2 separate regions of the Homo sapiens genome follow, and region 1 is linked to region 2. The links are contacts of gene promoters, found by promoter capture Hi-C in blood cells and fetal thymus (Javierre and others, 2016). All regions are on one chromosome and are shown on one strand. The core of a region is centred on a gene start or on the middle of the fragment in contact, and the rest is flanking DNA. Distances in the headings are between cores, read along the strand shown. Region 1 holds the start of SPAG7 (sperm associated antigen 7). Region 2 holds the start of ZMYND15 (zinc finger MYND-type containing 15).

Evidence for each region. The method cuts DNA at HindIII sites, captures the fragments that hold promoters and counts their contacts. A CHiCAGO score of 5 or more calls a contact.
Region 1: a fragment that was not itself captured here is called in contact with the fragment with the promoter of ZMYND15 in region 2 in 3 of 17 cell types (M0 macrophages, monocytes and M1 macrophages); the score reaches 9.8 in M0 macrophages.

The regions. Positions count from the first base shown.
Region 1 is chr17:4,963,478-4,967,978 of GRCh38, forward strand. It overlaps SPAG7 (sperm associated antigen 7), which reads right to left and starts at 4,340. Exons shown (of 7, transcript NM_004890.3): 1 at 4,243-4,340. The coding sequence starts at 4,327. LOC124900387 (a long non-coding RNA gene) reads right to left here and starts at 4,236. Exons shown (of 2, transcript XR_007065587.1): 1 at 2,924-4,236; 2 at 2,345-2,842. RefSeq lists enhancers at 2,029-2,706, 3,385-4,062, 3,976-4,475, 4,063-4,501 and a silencer at 4,486-4,501. The HindIII fragment of the contact is 2,419 bases long and covers 543-2,961 here.
Region 2 is chr17:4,737,668-4,742,772 of GRCh38, forward strand. It overlaps ZMYND15 (zinc finger MYND-type containing 15), which reads left to right and starts at 2,166. Exons shown (of 14, transcript NM_001136046.3): 1 at 2,166-2,383; 2 at 2,852-3,473; 3 at 3,915-4,149; 4 at 4,248-4,403; 5 at 4,664-4,824. The coding sequence starts at 2,882. It overlaps CXCL16 (C-X-C motif chemokine ligand 16), which reads right to left and starts at 2,261. Exons shown (of 6, transcript NM_001386809.1): 1 at 1,594-2,261; 2 at 1,115-1,253; 3 at 741-823. The coding sequence starts at 1,672. RefSeq lists enhancers at 774-1,679, 1,680-2,584 and a silencer at 2,133-2,352. The HindIII fragment of the contact is 8,207 bases long and covers 1-5,105 here.

The DNA.
Region 1 (4,501 bases), core at 502-3,001, 230 kb after region 2:
AGATGGAATCTCGCTTTGTCGCCCAGGCTGGAGTGCAGTGGCACGATCTTGGCTCACTGCAACCTCCGCCTCCTGGGTTCAAGCGATTCTTCTGCCTCAGCCTCCTGAGTAGCTGGGACTATAGGCATGTGCCACCACGCCCAGCTAATTTTTGTATTTTTAGTAGAGATGGGGTTTCACCATATTGGCCAGGCTGGTCTCGAACTCCTGACCTTGTGATCCACCTGCCTCGGCCTCCCAAAGTGCCAGGATTACAGGCTTGAGCCACCGTGCCCAGCTGGAAAGGGGAAATTATTTAACTTTCTATATTTTGTAAAATCCCCCACTTCCCACTTCTATAGACAGGATGAAGCTGAAATAGATAATCTGACACCCTTCTCCTTTGGGAGTGTAGGTGTCCAAGGTTAGCTGTGAAGGGTCTTCTTTTTCTGAACTCTTGGGCTCAAGGTATCTGCCTGCCTCTTGCCTGAAGATGCCCGAGACCCCATCTTTACAGAAAACTTTTTTTAAAAAAATTAGCCAGGTCTGGGTGCAGAGACTCAAGCTTCTCAAGCAATTTGAGAGGCCGAGGTGGGAGGATCACTTGAGGCTGGGAGTTCAAGACCAGCCTCCCAAAGTGCTGGGATTTCAGCTGTGAGTCCCCTCGCCTGGCTAAGGGTCTTATTTAACTTTCTTCCTCTTCCTTAGATCCTGCCTCTGCGCCAGATCCCCTCTGCCTCTGGAGGAGGAGGAAGAATTTCTAACCCGGGCCCTCCATGCTTGCCTGTCTTCCCCACGATGTGATTTTACTACCTCTAGAGATTTGGGTGCATGCTTCTTCCTACTCCTGCTCCTCAGCCTGAAATTTTTTTCTCTTTTGCCATTTCAAATCCTTTACATCTTTTTTTTTTTTTTTTTTTTTTGAGACGGAGTCTCGCTCTGTCGCCCAGGCTGGAGTGCAGTGGCGCAATCTCCGCTCACTGCAAGCTCCGCCTCCCGGGTTCACGCCATTCTCCTGCCTCAGCCTCCCAAGTAGCTGGGACTACAGGCGCCCGCCACCACGCCTGGAGAATTTTTTGTATTTTTAGTGGAGACAAGGTTTCACCGTTTTAGCCAGGATGGTCTTGATCTCCTGACCTCATGATCCACCCGCCTCGGCCTCCCAAAGTGCTGGGATTATAGGCGTGAGCCACCGCACCCGGCCAAATCCTTTACATCTTTAAGGCCTCCTTCTTCCCCAGGATCTGAATCCTCTCCAGCTGCACTGAACCTCTCCCCATCATTTATTTATTTATTTCGAGACAGAGTCTCGCTGTGTGCCCAGGCTGGAGTGCAGTGGCGCGATCTCGGCTCACTGCAACCTCTGCCTCCCGGGTTCCAGTGATTCTCATGCCTCAGCCTCCCGAGTAGCTGGGATTACAGGTGTGAACCACCACACCCGGCTAATTTTTTTTTTCTTTTTCTTTTTTTGAGATGGAGTTTCGCTCTCTTTGCCCAGGCTGGAGTGCAATGGTGCAATCTTGGCTCACTGCAACCTCTGCCTCCCGGGTTCAAGTGATTCTCCTGCCTCAGCCTCCCGAGTAGCTGGGATCACAGGCATGTGCCACTACACCTGGCTAATTTTTTCATTTTTAGTAGAGATGGGCTTTCTTCTCCATGTTGGTCAGGCTGGTCTCGAACTCCCGACGTCAGGTGATCCGCCCGCCTCAGCCTCCCAAAGTGTTGGGATTACAGGCGTGAGCCACCACGCCCGCCCATTTTTTTGTATTTTTCGTAGAGACGATGTTTCGCCATGTTGGCCAGCCTGGTTTTGAACTCCTGACCTCAAGTGATCTGCCCGCCTCAGCCTCCCAAAGTGCTGGGATTATAGGCATGAGCCCTCTCCCCATTTTTCAAATAACTCCATGCCTTTGCACACGTTGTTCCTCTGCTTGGAATGCTTTTCCTCCTCTTGCAAACATTGAGATCTACCGTGAGTCAGTTACTTCTTCCCCTGGGCTCCAAGCTCCTTTGGCTGAGACACCCAGCAGCATAGACAGAGAACTAACGTATCATAACTTCTTTTTTTTTTGTCTCCTTCAGCATAGTATGAGCTCCTGGAGGGCAGGGACCCTGTTGATCTACTGTTCAGTTATCCTCTGGAGCCCCAGGGCCTGACAGCTTATGAGCTCTCATCCCTCTGTCCTCACTGACCATCAGCGCATTTCATCTTTTGTTGTTGGAAACAGTCTCAACTTCATCGCCCAAAATGGAGTGCAGTGGCGCAATCACCTCTCACTGCAGCTTCAACCTCCCAGACTCAAGCGATTCTCCCACCTCAGCCTCCCGAGAATTGGGACCATAGGAGCGCGCCACCAAGCCCAGCTAATGTTTATTTATTTATTTATTTATTTATCTATTTATTTATTTATTTATGAGACGGAGTCTCGCTCTGTCGCCAGGCTGGAGTACAGTGGCGCAATCTCGGCTCACTGCAACCTCCTCCTCCTGGGTTCAACTGATTCTCCTGCCCCAGCCTCCTGAGTAGCTGGGACTACAGGCACGCGCCACCACGCCCAGCTAATTTTCGTATTTTTAGTAGAGACGGGGTTTCACCATGTTGGCCAGGATGCTCTCGATCTCTTGATCTCGTGATCTGCCCGCCTTGGCCTCCCAAAGTTTTGGGATTACAGGCGTGAGCCCGGCCAATTTTTGTATTTTTTGTAGAGATGGGGTTTCTCCATGTTGCCCAGACTGGTCTTGAACTCCTGGGCTCAAGCGATCCGTCCGCCGCGGCCTCCCAAAGTGGTGGTATTAAAGGTGTGAGCTACAAGGCCGGGCCCCACTGACTGTTCTTTAACTGGTTTTCGAGTCTTCTCTGCATCTAGAGAAGTGGCACAAGATTATGGTCAAGAACATAGGCTTCGAGCCCAGTCATACCTGGGTTTGAAACCCTGCCACTTACCAAACTAACCATGTGACCTCAGGCGAGTGACTCATTTAAGCTTCCCAGTCTGTCAATGCCGGGTGATCCCCCACTTAGACAGTCATCGGAGCATTAGAGAATTCCAGTTCCCCATTCCCATCATGCTTCCTCCTTTCTCAGAGATTTCAAATAGACTCTTCTGCCTGTAACGCTTTGCTTCTCTCTCTCATTTACGGAATTACCTGTTCTGATCTCGGCTCACTGCAGATTGGGGGAGAACCTCAGGTGGCCGCTCTCACAGTTATTTTTCTCTCAGAGCACTTATCAAGTTGGTTATTAAACTTACGTGTGATCACTGCATCAATGAGCGCCCCAGCCCCGGACTGTGGCCTCCCTGAGGGGTACCCCTGGTCCCTAACGGTTGTTCAAGAAACAAGGGGACGAAGCGTAGGCAACCAGCGGCCCTTGAATACTTGGAAGGCGTCCTGCCTGCTCTGGTCCCCCTGGGGCACGTGGGGAGCTGGGACAGGGCTCGTCCGTGGTCAAGGTCCGCAGGTTTGGGAGTTGGGGTCCTGCGTTCCGCCAGTATCATCCCAAGCTGCAACACGAGCAGCCCCGGGGAGGCTCCCACCGCCCTGCAGGGCCGCGCCCTACGCCGGCCGCCGAACTCCAGCCCACCCGCAGGGAAGCTACTCCGAGAACGCAGGCGGAGACAGTGGCCAATCGGACCCGGCGGGTATTCTCATCCCTCCAATCAACACTACGATCCGCCCGGGCAGCTCGGGAATTTAAGGCTACGGATGGGAAAAAGGTTGTCGGAGGGAGGCAGAAGGGACTGGGTTAAATTAAGCAGGAGGGGCAAGAACACACAGAGGACCCTGCAACCAATGGGAATTCGCAGGCTGGGGTGGTTTCGAAGGAAGGTCGAACAGGCCTGAGGAGGCAGAGCTTTAAGTTGAGATAGCCAATAGAGATGAAGGCACAGTAGATGGCGTGTCCTAAATCCAATCGAAATAGAGCTAGAGGTGAGCGGGGCAGGAATGCGGCAGGTTGGAGGCACCCTACCAATCAGACCAGGTCAGCAGCGGACAGGCGGGACGGCCGGCTAATGGGAAACAAGGACTGCGGAAGGCCAGGGTCGGGAGAAGAGGCAGGAGGCTGGCGCTATCTTTCAGGTAGCCAATCACTGTCCGCTAAGAACAGCGGGCGTGTCAGCAGCCCTTTTAGGGACTCTGAGGGTCTCGGAAGGGGCCTGTGAGGGGTCTTTCAAGGTTGAGGAGGCGGCATCGTCCAAAGAGGGAGAAGTATGGTCCCGAGAACCGGGCGAAGGAAGGCGGTTGTGAATTTGGGATCCTCACCTCGGGCCTTGCGCCGAGTCTCCTGGTCACCGAGGCTGGGTGGCTTCTCCATGGAGCTCAGGATGGAGCCCAGTAGGTCCGCCATCTTGGGAGTGACTGAGAGGGGGCGGTGCGTCTTAAAGGGAAGGGCGGAATGCCTTTAAGGCCGGAAACACGTCGGAGGCGGAAAACCCTGGGCCCGCCTGGCCTGGGCGCAGATCCCAGGCCCGCGGTGCATGGCGGCCTCCAGCTGGCCTAGGCCCCGCCCCGCCCCCGCAGA
Region 2 (5,105 bases), core at 916-3,415:
AAATATCGTGTAATTGCTGTAAAATTGATAGTGTAAAATATATGTTTATGTAAATATGTAAAATATACATATATAAATAAAATTGTAGAATCTAGGTGGAGGCACTGGATATTCAGTGTGCCATTCTTTCAACTTTTGTATATGTGTAAATTTTCATAATAAAATATTGGAAAAGAAAAATAGGCCAGGTGTGGTGGCTCACGCCTGTAATCCTAGCACTTTTGGAGGCCGAGGCGGGTGGATCACAAGGCCAGGAGTTCGAGACCAGCCTGGCCAACATGGTGAAACCCTGTCTCTACTAAAAATACAAAAATTAGCCAGGCTTGGTGGTGCGCGCCTGTAATCCCAGCTACTCAGGAGGCTGAGGCAGGAGAATCTCTTGAACCTGGGAGGCAGAGGTTGCAGTGAGCCAAGATCGTGCCACTGCACTCCAGCCTGGGTGACAGAGTGAGACTCCATCTCAAAAAAATAAAATAAAATAGTACTTTGATTTCAAGAAAAATATTAATAAGTAGACAATAGCACACGTGGTAGAATGAATTGGCAAAACTCATGAAGGTGATGGTGAATGATCACCCCGTTTGGCAAACAGGGACTCGAGTCTAAGTACTTTGGACAGGATCAGAAGAAGGTTCTAGGAATGTGCGGCCCCAGGGGAAAAGGCTCAGGTAAAGAAAACTGTCAGGTGGAAGCTGCTAAGCCCTGGAGGCAGAGCCTGAAGAGCAGTGGAAAAGTCTCACCTTTGAGATCAAGACAGCTCATCAATTCCTGAACCCATGGGTCCTTGTTGCCCCCACACACGCTCCAGGAAAGGAGCTGGAACCTGCGGAGGAGAGACCTGGGCTTAGCTGCGGCGCCTTCTTTCCTTCCCCGGCTCCTTCCTCATTCCAGAGGCGTGAAGTTGCCACCAAGAAAGAGCCCTTTCTCCTGGGACTGGGAAACTCCCCAGTAGGTGAGACGGAGTCATGAAGTTTCGGGGAATGAGAGCAAACGGAACCCGGAGATGGGGCTCGGTGAGCCGGGAAGGAGTTCAGGCTGGACCAGAGAGGGTCCTGGAGGCACCTGCAAGGAGGGGCCGCCCAGGCGCTGCCCTCGCAGAGGCAGGTAAAATTACCTCGTGTAGTATAGACACCGATGGTAAGCTCTCAGGTGTTTCCGGAGACGATTCATGAACTGAACCGATGGCGGGGAGTCGGAAGAAATTCTTTTACCACAATAACAACTTCCAGTGACGCTGCCCTCGTTGCCATTGCCTGCGCGGGACGGAGGTGGTCGGCACCCATTCCCAGGCCCAGGGTCCCCACTCCGCTGTTCCCTGGCATCCAATCCACAGCCCCATGACAGCCTCTCGGTGGACCCAGGGTCAGAGCGCCAGGCTCAACCCACACATCATCACGCCCCCGACAACATCCATAATCCCGCCCGGAGCCAGGCGTCCCCGGGCCTCTGTCCCCAACCCCAGGCGGCTGGCTGGCTTTCCTCTTGTCCCCGCTGCCTTCATCCACTCAACTCCGTGGGCCTCGTGTCCCCTCCCCAACTCACCCCCTTCCCGTGACAGGGGAATCTGGGTCCCCTGCCCCGCCCCCGGCTAACCTGGCTGAGTCAGGTACACCAGCAGGAGCAGAAGCAGGAGCAGGAGCACGCGGGACCCGGGCCGCAAGTCCCGTCCCATCTCGGGGCTCCGCGGACTCTGCGGGGATGGAGCCACCTCGCTCTGACTCCCAGACATGCTCCGGCGCGTGACGTCCAGCTGGTGTCTCAATGGCTTTCGCCGGGGACCGGAGGAGACGGCGGCCGGAGAGGAGGCGCGAGCCAGCTGCACCCCCCGGCCCTGCTGTGCCCCGACCGTGCGCTCAGTACTCGGCCCGCGCCATGCCAGCCTCTGGACGCAGGGAAAGCCGAGGAGGTGGAGCTCCCGCGCCCTGCGCCCCCGCACTGGGCCCGGCTCCGTCGAGGGAAGGCCAGGAATCTTGGAAGAAACCGAAAGAAAACTCCGGCGGCGGGCGAGGAGGGGCGGGAGGACGACGGCCCGAGGAGCCGATTCGGTTCGGTTCAGGAGGCCGCCCGCCTGGCCCGTCCGCCGACCTGTGAGGCGGCTGCACTGCCGGACCGGCCCTCCTCCTCCGAGGCACTTTCACTTCCCCGATCCGGGCGCCGCGGGACCCAGCCGCGCTGCATGAGCCTCCCGGGCGGCCCGGTGGAGAGAGTCGCCGCCAGCCCCGGCCGCGCGCACCTGCGGGGCAGCCACCCGCGGACGCACCGAGCCCGGGGGGCGTGGCCGCCCGCTGAGCCGGCGAGGGCTCGGGCAGCCCTGACGTCACAACCGCACCCGCGCACCCTCCACCGCGAGGTATTTACCTTCGAAAAGTGGTGGCGGCTGCAGGTACCGGAGGAGTGGGGCGGCCGGGAGGGGCTAGGTCTACCGGGGCTGCCCGCCACGCAGATCCGAGCCCAGGGAACCCCCTCGCTCCCACTCCCATACCCCACAGACGCATCCAAAATGCTTCCCTCCCCACCAAACCGTTCCCGATAGGATTAGCCCTCTCTCCTCTCTAGCCTTAATTTAAACTCTGCTTTTGAGGGTGTGAACTCTCCAATTTTAAGCCCCAAATACCATCTCATCCCTGAGTAGTCTTCTCCAACCCTGGTCACCCACTTTCAAGTCCAGCCCCCATTTTCCTCCCTAAACTCCCATCCTCAGCCCTGAAAAATCCTCTTCTCCGCTCCTAGCATATCCACGGATCCAACCCTAAGTGACTCTCAAACCTACCCTCTCCCTCAATTTGTGACCCAGCCCCAAACTCCATCATTGCTCTCCTGTCCCTCACCATATATCCCTTCTTTTGCTCAGTCTGGGCCGGGGCCCTGTGCCGCTGAAGACATGGAGTTTGTGTCTGGATACCGGGATGAGTTCCTTGATTTCACTGCCCTTCTCTTCGGCTGGTTCCGAAAGTTTGTGGCAGAGCGTGGAGCTGTAGGGACTAGCCTTGAGGGCCGCTGCCGGCAGCTGGAGGCCCAGATCAGAAGGCTACCCCAGGACCCTGCCCTTTGGGTGCTCCATGTCCTGCCCAACCATAGTGTGGGCATCAGCCTGGGGCAAGGGGCAGAACCAGGTCCTGGACCAGGCCTGGGGACTGCCTGGCTCCTGGGAGACAACCCTCCACTCCACCTGCGAGACCTGAGCCCCTACATCAGCTTTGTCAGCCTAGAGGATGGGGAGGAAGGGGAGGAGGAAGAGGAGGAAGATGAAGAAGAAGAGAAGAGAGAGGACGGGGGTGCAGGCAGCACAGAGAAGGTGGAACCAGAGGAGGACCGGGAGCTAGCCCCTACCAGCAGGGAGTCCCCCCAGGAAACAAACCCTCCAGGAGAGTCAGAGGAGGCTGCCCGGGAGGCAGGAGGTGGCAAGGATGGCTGCCGAGAGGACAGGGTGGAGAACGAAACAAGACCCCAGAAGAGGAAGGGACAGAGGAGTGGTAAGAACCCAGGGCTGGCCCTGCCCTACCCCTTGCCCAGCCATCCTCCCTTCGGAAGCCCTCCCCTGCCACTAGTTCTGAGTGCTGGCCTTCAGGCCAATCTGGCCTGAAAAGGTGTTTTTATTGACCCACAGTGGGGTTTTTTTTTTTAATTTAATGTTTAAACATTGCAAGAAAAAAAGTATCCAGAAGTCTGGATTTACACATTCCCAAGAAAAATCTCAAGCTCTGACAGTGGGCCTACATTTCTGCATGGCAGCGCATTCTGGTCCTCTGTAGCAGCTGTCCCCTTTAGAAGGAGCGTGCCCTCTCTACCCAGAGCCCTTTACTCAGTGAGGTTACTTGCCTAGCCCCGTAGGTATTTGAGTTTGGTACTCCTGACCCTGACCACATTTGTCTCTCGCTGCCCCCTACCACCTCAACTTTTCCCTCTTTCCCCAGAGGCTGCCCCCCTGCACGTTTCCTGTCTCTTACTTGTGACGGATGAGCATGGCACCATCTTGGGCATTGATCTGCTAGTGGATGGAGCCCAGGGAACCGCAAGCTGGGGCTCAGGGACCAAGGACCTGGCTCCTTGGGCCTATGCTCTCCTCTGTCACAGCATGGCCTGTCCCATGGGCTCTGGGGATCCCCGAAAGCCCCGACAGCTTACTGTGGGAGATGCCCGGCTGCATCGGTATAGAAATCTGGTATCTGAGGCTGGGGAGGACTCGGGCCCTGGATTCCCAAGCACCTCCTCCAGCCTGATGCCATCTCCCCCCCAACTGCATTTAGAGAGCTGGAGAGCTTGGTCCCAAGGCTAGGTGTGAAGTTAGCCAAAACCCCAATGCGGACATGGGGTCCCCGGCCAGGCTTCACCTTTGCTTCCCTTCGTGCTCGAACCTGCCATGTGTGTCACAGGCACAGCTTTGAAGCGAAGCTGACACCTTGGTGAGCAGCCCCAAAGCTGGGGGAGAGGAAGACCCCAATAGGCAAATAGAAGGAAGGCAGGGTGGTGGGGGGCGCCTAGCAGACAGAAGGAGAGGCAGGGACATGAGAAGATGCAGAGGAAACAATACAGACTGTTACAGGCGGTTAGAGGGTGTAAGACAAACAGACCGAGTGACATATGGGCAGCTGCTGGGCAGTTGAACAGCAGACAGGACCTACAGAGGTTAACACTAGGTGCCCACCACCCGCTGTGTCCCCAGCCCCCAGTGTAGTGCTGTCTTGTATTGTGGAGAGGCTTGTCTCCGGGCTGACTGGCAGCGGTGCCCAGATGATGTGAGTCACCGATTTTGGTGCCCAAGGCTTGCAGCCTTCATGGAGCGGGCAGGAGAACTGGCAACCCTGCCTTTTACCTACACCGCAGGTACCATAAGGAGGTCAGAATGGTTGGGGGAAACTGGGACCAGGTCTTTGAGACTGGGAATTAGATGTCTGGGAACAGGGTCCTGCAGTTGAAGGCTGAGTGTCTGGGGCTAGAGCCTAGATCCCTGGAACAAGGGCAGGGGCTGGGTGTTTGGGGCTGGAGACAGGGTCTCTGAAGCCGAGGCCTGAGTGTCTGGGTCCCTGAGAGCGTGCAGGGATTGGGGGACAGGGATTCAAACACTTACTTGCTTCCCAGCTCCACCACTAACTGCAGTGTGACCT